3 separate regions of the Homo sapiens genome follow, and all the other regions are linked to region 3. The links are contacts of gene promoters, found by promoter capture Hi-C in blood cells and fetal thymus (Javierre and others, 2016). All regions are on one chromosome and are shown on one strand. Each heading gives the region's core, a stretch centred on a gene start or on the middle of the fragment in contact. The rest is flanking DNA. Distances are from core to core; before and after follow the strand shown.

Region 1 (3,090 bases), core at 382-2,881, 320 kb before region 3:
GACACTTGTCTCAGGCTCTGTTGAACACAGAGCCAGATGACTAACCTGCTTCCTTTGATCTCATCCTAGATCAGTGTGCGTGTGACCACCATGGATGCAGAGCTGGAGTTTGCCATCCAGCCCAACACCACCGGGAAGCAGCTATTTGACCAGGTAAGGCGGAGACTCCTTAGCCTCCTCTCCTTCTCTGAATAGCTTCCACCACAATGCCAACAATCCATGACTTTTGCCTCTTGTCAAAGAATCTCTCTTCCTGTTCACTCCAAGATAGATCAAAATGAAGGCTGATTCCAGACTTAATATGAAAGGAGGCAAAGTTAAACTTTGGCAGCCTGCACCCTATGGTCCTGATTAATTTTATCTTTGGTCCTGAATAAGGGAGAAAAGAAAATGGTGTATATTCTATGCTAGATGCTTTAAAAATCTTAGCATATGGAGCCTTCCTTTTAACTCTGAAACATGTAAGTGATGTCTTCTCCATTTTAATGATGAGGCTCAGAAGTTAAATAACTTAATTGCACCCAAATGATATTTGGCTGGGATTTGCACTCCACATTGTTGCCACTGCACCACACTGCCTCTGTCCCATGTTTTTGCTTCCTAGTAGAAGGAAACTAACTTACTCTCCCTGAGGTAGTAAGCTCTATGCACATTTCTCTCAAAAGAATGTTGGGACTTAGGACAACATGGGAGTTGATGGATGCAGTAGGAGGCTGCTTCATCTCCTACAGGCATGCCATGAAGATAATTGCTTACTCGCCATAGTGAAGAGGTCATTCCCATCTCCAACCCAAGGGGTGTCCCTTCATTGTGAATCATTATTGTCAGAAAGGATGTACTGTATACTATAATAAACAGATGGCAGCTACAGACATTTTTAGCATTCAAGGGAATGTGCCGTCTGTGGCCAGACTTCTAGGAGCAAAAATGAGGCTCCCATTTCCAGAGGCTGGGACCTCACCAGACAGGCCATTATCCTATTTCTCCACCAGACTCCGATGAAGTGGAGGTCTGAGTTATTGTCCAGGATGTTAGGCTGCATATCACCCTGATGGATTCTCCAGGCCCTCTTGCTTCCCTTTCTTCCTTGCTCTCTGTGTCCTTCTACCATATGAGAACTTCCCCAGGGTTGGAGAGAGGAAGAAAAAAAGAAGGAGGTAGTGTTCAAATAAGCTAATTCTATTCCTGTGAATACTTCTGACTGGTGAGAGAAAAGACAAGAGTAGAATGGAGACAGGGGTAGGAGAGGGCTAGAAATTTGAGGACAGCTTGGGTACACCTTCTGAGTTCTTATTACATAGAGTGGGAAAATTATTGTCTGTGGCTAATACAGATGAGAGTTAACATTTATCCAGGACTCAGTGTATGCTAAGTATTATGATAAGCATTTGACTATCACAAAGCTCTGTGAGTGCATGAATTAGTATGGGCATGTTTTACAGATGAGGACACAAAATCCTCATTTTCCTAGTTAGACCCTGGGAAAATTATTGAACTCTCTGGGTTGGTATCTTCATCCCCTCCCCCCGAGAAATATCTAATACTTACCTCACAGGATTTTTGTGAGTGTGTTATGTTTTGTATCTTACCTGTTACTCAAAAATCTGATTATAGTGGCATATAAGGATGTCCAATCCAAAAAGATAAATTCGAAATAGGTGAGAAAGATAAGAAAACACAAATAGGAAAGAAAGTGTTAGCTGGAAGAAAGCATCCAGCATATGGTAGAGAAGTAATAAATGATAGCTCCCTTTCCAATACCATTGTGCTTCTTGTATTATTAATTGAGCTGGAGTTGACGTGATGTGGTGGCTCATGTCTGTAATCCTAACACTGAGATGGGAGGATTGCTTGAGCCCAGGGGCTCGAGACCAGCCTGGGTAACACAGCGAGACCCTGTCTCTACAAAAAATTTAAAAATTAGCATGGCATGGTGGTGCACACCTATAGTCCCAGCTACTCAGGAGATTGTGCCAGGAGGGTTGCTCAAGCCCAGGAGTTCAAGGTTACAGTGAGCTATGATCACGCCACTGTACTCCAGCCTAGGTGACAGAGCAAGACTCTGTCTCTAAAAAAAAAAAAAAAAAGTAAAGAAAAATAATCTAGAATTGGGAGAATTGGGAGATGGGCTTAATGATCCTCAGAATATCTAACTTCAGATTTAGGTGGAACTTACTTCTCTGGAGTTTGTTTTGTGTTTGTTTTACTTTGAATGGCAAAGTGTAATCATTGATACTTAATTGGTGAAAATACAAATTAGTCTGAGGAATATTTAAATACAAGTTTACTACAATTAAAGTGATGTGCTTACATTCACATAGCTCACAAGTGATTATGGTGCTAGTCTGGAATGACTAAATGCATTCTAATTATAATTGTGCTTTGCATTCTCTCTTCACATGGAGGTTATATTGGAGAACTTTTAAAGGGACAGCCTAGTGAAGTCAAAAGGGCCTGGATAGAAAGTCATGAATCTTGGGCTGTAGGGTTGGCTCTATCACTAATTCGCTGTGATACAAACGTTTCCCTTATTTGGGCCTCAGTTTCTCATCTGTACAATGCCTAACTTGTTTCTCAAATCTGGTTATCTCTCAGAAAATTTATCTCTGGCATTTATTTGTGCATTCCATCTCTCTTTCTCTCCCATTTCTGTTCCTAGTATTGGGATTTCAGACAATCCTTTTCTGTAAAAAGGAGAGAAATGCCTCACCTGAGTATGATCAGCTGCTGGCATATGTGAGGAGGTAGGGCTAGCTGGCAGGGGGATCATCTCTTCCTTGACAGGCTTTTTACTGTCTCTAAGACAAAAGGGAGGAAGTGTCCATAGAACACATAGGCTTTTGGGCCCTTTGCTTTAGACAGCAGTATCATTCTGGGTAGCAGCTATTAGAGAGGGAAGCGGTTAGTCAGTGCAGATTTTACAGACCAGCTGGGAGCCAGAGGCTCCTTTGACATTTACCTATACTCCTTCCAAGAGCCCTGATTCTACTAATTCCCCATCCCAAACCAGATGACGCCATCCTCTACCCTCAACACTGGGGGCTTTGTATATGTGCATTGCAGGGGGATGGCTGTGGAGGATGAGGAAGG
Region 2 (3,272 bases), core at 502-3,001, 280 kb before region 3:
CTTTATTTGCACAGCAATTTTATGTTCACAGCAAAATTGAGTGAAAATATAGAGTTTCTATATACTTTGCCCCCACACATGCATACCCTCCTACTTTATCAATATCTCACAACAGAGTGGTTTATCTGTTACAACTGATGAAACTACCTTGGCATCTCATTATCACTAAAAGTCCATAGTTTACATCAGGGTTCACTCTTGGTGTTGTGCATTCTGTGGGCTTTGAAAAATGTATAACATGTATCCACCATCATAGAATTACACAGAGTATTTTCACTGCCCTAAAATCATTTGCACTTCACCTATTCATCCTTCCCTCTCCCTAACCCCTGACACCCACTGATCTTTTTACTGTTTCTGTAGTTTTGTTTTTTCTAGAATGTCATATAGTTGGAATTGTATAGTACGTGACCTTTTTTGGTTGGTTTCTTTCACTTAGTAATATGCATTTAAGGTCCCTCCATGTTTTTTCATTGCTTGATAGCTCATTTCTTTTTGCCTCTGAATAATATTCTATTATGTGGTTGTACCACAGTTTATTTATTCATTTACCTATTGAAGGGATATCTTGGTTGCTTCTAAGTTTTGGCAATTATGAATAAAGCTGCTATAAACATCTGTGTACCTTTTTCTGCACAGACATAAGTTTTTACTCATTTGGCTAAATACCAAGAAGTATGATTCCTGAATTGTATGGTAAGAGTATGTTTAGTTTTGTAAAAAACTGCCAAACTTCTCCATGACTCTCCCATCAATGCCTTCCCCCAAGAGGTAGCAATTGATGACCTCTGTCATCATAGATTTGTTTTGCCTTTTTTGAACTTCATATAAAGGTTATATAAAGTTTATATACAGTAAGTTTGTATATAAACTTTGTATTAAAAGTTTATATACAGTAAGTTTGTATATAAACTTTATATTAAGTTTATATAATGTTTATATACAATATGTTAAACTATAAAGAGGTTATATAAAGTTTATATATAGTATGTTTGTATATAAACTTTGTATAAACTTTATATACAGTATGTCCTCTTTTGTGTTTGGCTTCTTTTCCTCAACATAATATCTGTGAGATTCATCCATGTTACAGTATGCCAAGTTGTATTCCAGTGACCTGGAATAGTCTCCTTTTGATGGACGTTTGGGCTGGCTCCAGTTTTTGCCTATTATGGATAAAGCTACTGGGAATATTCTGATATAGGTATTTTAATGGTCCTGTACACTCATTTTTTTGGGTCTATTTCTAGGAGTGGAATTTCTGAATTATTTAGGTAATTATTTTAGTTTTAACCGATACTGAGGGAGAAGGTTAGTATGGACCGAAGGAGAGAAGGTAGTTGTTACTCACATGCTTTTAAGTTGCTCAGAACTCACCCCAATAACATGTCTAAACTAAGTCACAATCCTACTGTATGAGGTCACTGACCTACCTTAAGGCTAGGTTGGGATTTGTTCAAGAATGGGACATGTACACCAGTGTTCATGGCAGCATTACTCACAATCCTTAAAAGGTGAAAACAACCCATGAGTTCATCAACAATCGAATAGATAAACAAAATGTGATACATACATATAATGGAATATTATTCAACCTTAAGAATGAATGAAGTTCTGAAACATGCTATAACATGGATGAGCCTTAAAAAACAGTAAGCAAGACACAAATGAAAATATTGTATGAGTCCTCTTATATGAAATATCTAGAATAGGTTAATTAATAGAGACAAAAAGTAGAAAAAAGGTTATCAGAGGATGGGGAATGTGGATGGAGAGTTATTGCTTACTGATTAGAATTTCTGTTTGAGATCATGAAAAAGTTCTGGAAATAGAGTGGTGATGATTACACAACATTGTGAATGCACTTAAAGTCACTGAATTGTACATTCAAAATGGTAAATTTTATGCTATGTATAATTTACCACAATAAAAAACATGCTTTGTTAAAAAAAGAATTGTCCATGGTGGTTTAGTGGTTAGGATAATTTCAAAAGAATGAGACAGCAGGTTGGGAAGGTGGATGGGCATCGGTGACTCAAAAAGAAAGGTAGCAGAAGCTGACACCAAGCATACATGAAACAGACCCAAAGGCCTAGAATCCTCAAAGTTATCCAGTCAGTCCCCACCCCCAACAATCTCTAATACTACTTTATTATCTACAGACAATGTCAGAACCCTTATGTGTTCAATGCTTCTGAATTGAAGCTCTTATTTGGGGTGAAAACTACGTGGCCTAAGTGCTTTCTGTTGTCTGGCATAAGATCAGGCAGCATCCAGGTGATTCCACTGTTACCCTGTCCCTGGGGGCACAGTGGCACTTTCGCCTTTTCATTGATGCCCAACAACGCAGATATAAAAATTGGAACAGATGGTGAGGGGGCTTCAAATTTGTTGGCTGGCTCTCAACTCAGGGAAAGCAGCACAGGGAAAGATCTGCTCAACAAAACAAAATGTGATCCCCAGCAGGTCTAAACAAATAAGTGTTCAAAATGTATTTAGTGGCACTGAGCCACCAAAGAAGAGAAGGGACGTCTGACAGCATAGGAGCAGGAAGATACATACTAAATCAAATTATCATTATTATTATGAAGCAAGCCACCAACAAGCTGGAGAATTTGGGGCTCATGCATTTCTTTTATTACTTTTTGTTAGGCAGATTGGCTGGAAAAATGATTTCTCTGGGTAGAATGGGACTACTATGGACTCTTTTTTTATTGTACTTTAAGTTCTAAGATATAGGTGCAGAAGGTGCAGGTTTGTTACATAGGTATGCACTTGCCATGGTGGTTTGCTGCACCCATCAACCTGTCATCTACATTAGGTATTTCTCCTAGTGCTATCCCTCCCCTAGCCCCCCACCTCCTGACAGGCCCCAGTGTGTGATATTCCCATCCCTGTGTCCATGTGTTCTCATTGTTCAACTCCCACTTATAAGTGAGAACATGTGGTGTTTGCTTTTCTGTTCCTGTGTTAGTTTGCTGAGAATGATGGTTTCCAGCTTCATCCATGTCCCTGCAAACAGCAAGAACTCATCCTTTTTTATGGCTGCATAGTATTCCATAGTGTATATGTGCCACATTTTCTTTATCCAGTCTGTCATTGATGGGCATTTGGGTTGGTTCCAAGTCTTTGCTATTGTGAATAGTGCTGCAATAAACATACGTGTGCATATGTCTTTATAGTAAAATGATTTATAATCCTTTGGGTATATGTCCAGTAATGGGATTGCTGGGTCAAATGGTATTTCTGGTTCTAGATCTTTGAGGAATCAC
Region 3 (3,218 bases), core at 703-3,202:
AATATTAGAAATTTTTTAAATTTTGATTATCTTGACATATCTCTTAGCCCCACAGGAAGAGGCTAGCAGCTTACTCTGGCCGCTACAGGGTTTTTAGCAGTGAAGCTGCAGTCCCACAGAGTTGTCCAGCTGAGAAACCCCTTTAAGACCAGTCAAGTCAACCTCCTCACTGTACAGATGGGCTAGGAACAATGAGGTCCAGGGAGAGGGAAGGTATTATTTGCAGCTCAGCATAACCTGAGCCTGAGGTCTATAGTATAAGATCCTGTGTACAAATGGAAGGCCTGCTTCCAGGTCTGGAAAAGCTCATAGGCTGGGGAAGGAACAAGACACATGAGTGCTCTCTCTCTCTCTCACACACACACACACACACACACACATGAATGCACACACACATACACACACACAAACAAAGGATTTAAATTTAACATTTCTAAAATGCTCCCTCAAGCCCCAGGCTTAAGCCCTAGCTCAAACCAACAGACTTGGAGAAGGTAGAGAGATACATTATAAAACCTGCTAGAGAATGGAAATGTGGTAGTTATAGAAAGAAAAATGTTTTTTCAGGAGCATTAACTCTGCCACTAATGCTCTTTGGCTTGGGGGCAAATTATTTTTTCTCTTGGTTGACTTAATTCAGAGTCTTTTCTAACTCTGAGGTTCCAGAGTGTGATGGGTCACAGAGCCCCAGGATAGGGTAACCTAATCAGAGTCAGCTACGGAAAGCTGGATTCTTTCTGACCTAACAAGTGACACCAAGCTAACACCTATCCAGCCTTTTTCTCTAGGGATGATAGGGAAGCAGCAAAATCCCCCTTTACCCTATATTGGATCTCACTTAGCTGTTACCCAGGTTGAGTTTCCTGAAAATCCATCTCACTTCTCAGGAGTGTAGATGAGGATAGAGCTTCCCAAGCTCCAAGGAAATAATGCCACTATGGAATAGTCCATCCTCCTTTGGGATTTGTATCCAGCCCATAAATAGCCCAGACAAATTGAGCCATGTCTATAGGGAAGTGAGTTATCCCAGGAATGGGTAAGAAACCAAGTCCTATGAAGACCAGTTGAAAAAGCTGGGGCTGTTCAGCTTGGAGGAGAGAAGAGTCAAGGAGACATAGTACTTGTCCTCAGGGCTTTGAAGGGCTATCACAGGGCAAGGAAGCATCTATGTTCTGTGTAGCCCCAAGAAGCAAAGCTGGGGTTTTTGGATGGAAGTCAGAGGGAACTGGATTTAGTTCAACACAAATAAGAACTTTCTAACAGTTGGAGCTGCTCCTGGATGGACTAGATGGTCTGGGGAGGTAGTGAACAGTGAAATCTCAATCACTACTGGATGTTTCTGAGCACTTATTCATGACAATGAAGGGTGGTATAGGTTACTTCTATAGTCCTATCCAACTCTTAGAAAACACTCCTTCTTCGGGGGCTGTATATTTTAACAGAGACCAAAGCTTGGAAGCAGAGTGGTTAAGTCCAATTGTAGAATTTTAGATGAGAGACAGCAGATGGAGGAAAGATTCGGATGTCATTGGGAACCTTCTTGATGCCCCTGAGATACAAGCCCTAGAAAATAATGCAGATGTTTTCCAAGAGAAAAATCCTTTTTCAATTTCTGCCCAAACTTGCCTTCTGGCTTCTTCAGCAGCCTTCAACTACATCCATCCGTTTTGCTCAAGGCTGAGAGAGCCTGCAGAGTTTGGCTGAGAAGACTCACCTGCCCAGTAGGAATAGGCTTTCCATAGTAGACATTAAACACCAACCCTCTAGCCTTTTGCCTAAGCCAGCAATGGCAGCCAGGCCCCCCTTTCTGCCTTACCATAAGTGTCCACTGTTAGGTGCCCCAGGAGTAGCAGGCCCAGTAAGATCCCCATCACAGCCAGAGCTACTTCTGTCCTTTCTTCCAGCCTCCTGCTACCAAAGAGGCTCAAACTTCTGGTGGCCGCCAGCGTCTGTGACTGCTTACTTCCCTTCCTTCCCTATATCTCTCACTCAAACTCCTAGTCCCATCACACATTCCCCTTCCTTCCCTATTTCAGTACAGGTCATGTGGGGTGCCCCCCTTCCCCCACCTCCTTGGGGTTGGAGGTTCCAGGATGAGTGAAGCAATTCTTCCCCCTGCTAGGGTATTGACTTGACTTTCCTTGGAGCCAATGGGGCTTTCTGGTCTTTGATCTCCTAGGCTGTATTTATTTTGAGTCTCCTCCACAAGATTCAGAGGTTGTGGGGGCGACCTTTGGGATGAGTCTTCCCACTCCAGTATGGCGGTGTTTTCCTTTGTGGTGAGCCCAGGGAGAAGAGATCAACTTTGCTGACCTACCCAATTTTCATTAGTTGTACTGTTAACCCTTGCCTGTGCAGCCTATGCAACTGGACAGGGTGTTGGGCCCGGGGTGCTTTTGGGCTTAAGAGTACAAGAGTTTAGTGTATTAAAGGGCTTTCTACACATCAAAGCTTGAATAATTGACAAGCCAATGGATAAGGCTGTTATGGGTGAATATGCCTCATATCTCATATTGGGGAAGCTCTTTGAATCACTTTCTACAATGGCTCCACCTCTCTGATGGTAAGGGAGAATTCATTTTCATTAATGTTCTCCATGCTTTTTCATAAGGAATTTATTTTTTACTTCTTTTAAGGGAAATTTAAGCCTAGCCTCCAGTGCAGCAGCCCATTAGTGGTATGCTGTATTAGGTTGAATTTTTCATTGACTTCCAATTGGTACAGGCCCTTGACCTACAAGAGAGTAATATTATGCCTCCTAGCAAAGCTCAACTGCTCCAGAAATTGCTCCTCTTCACAGGCCCCAGAGTGACTGTAATTTCATCAGCAGTCTAACTAGGTTTGGCACTGCGCTTTGTCTACTAAGCTTTGAAACAATAAGCACTTTCAAAAGCACAAATACATCCCAAAAATTCATACTGCACTGTAAGTAACAGCTAAGCTTAGTTTACTCTTTGATTGGAGGGATAGGAAAGGACTTGGTCAGGGGAGGGAGGAGTTTGTGCAGAGATGGGGAGTGGGAATATAAAGAAACATACTTGCCAAGGGGTGGCTGCATGCAGATGATTTGGAGCTGTGCACGGGCTAAGGAGACATTCCAGCATTTCAGGACACATTATTACATGGAATTCTATCAATCACCTCTGCCTCTAGGGCCCAATCCCCCTTGGCTGGTTGTTCCTTGTTTTTTGAGTACTGCACTCATTCCATCTCACTGG

Evidence for each region. Contacts are between HindIII fragments. The CHiCAGO score rates a contact against its expected background, and 5 or more counts as called.
Region 1: a fragment that was not itself captured here is called in contact with the fragment with the promoter of VSIG4 in region 3 in 10 of 17 cell types (activated CD4 T cells, M0 macrophages, non-activated CD4 T cells and 7 more); the score reaches 8.0 in activated CD4 T cells.
Region 2: a fragment that was not itself captured here is called in contact with the fragment with the promoter of VSIG4 in region 3 in 6 of 17 cell types (neutrophils, M0 macrophages, naive B cells and 3 more); the score reaches 11.0 in neutrophils.

What each region holds. Positions count from the first base shown.
Region 1 is chrX:65,716,749-65,719,838 of GRCh38, forward strand. MSN (moesin) reads left to right here. Exons shown (of 13, transcript NM_002444.3): 2 at 70-153. Among named protein-coding and RNA genes, the nearest start is that of MSN, 51 kb to the left of the region's middle. The HindIII fragment of the contact is 4,651 bases long and covers 1-3,090 here.
Region 2 is chrX:65,756,711-65,759,982 of GRCh38, forward strand. No RefSeq gene overlaps it. Among named protein-coding and RNA genes, the nearest start is that of MSN, 91 kb to the left of the region's middle. The HindIII fragment of the contact is 6,653 bases long and covers 1-3,272 here.
Region 3 is chrX:66,038,128-66,041,345 of GRCh38, forward strand. It overlaps VSIG4 (V-set and immunoglobulin domain containing 4), which reads right to left and starts at 1,953. Exons shown (of 8, transcript NM_007268.3): 1 at 1,817-1,953. The coding sequence starts at 1,871. The HindIII fragment of the contact is 1,000 bases long and covers 1,450-2,449 here.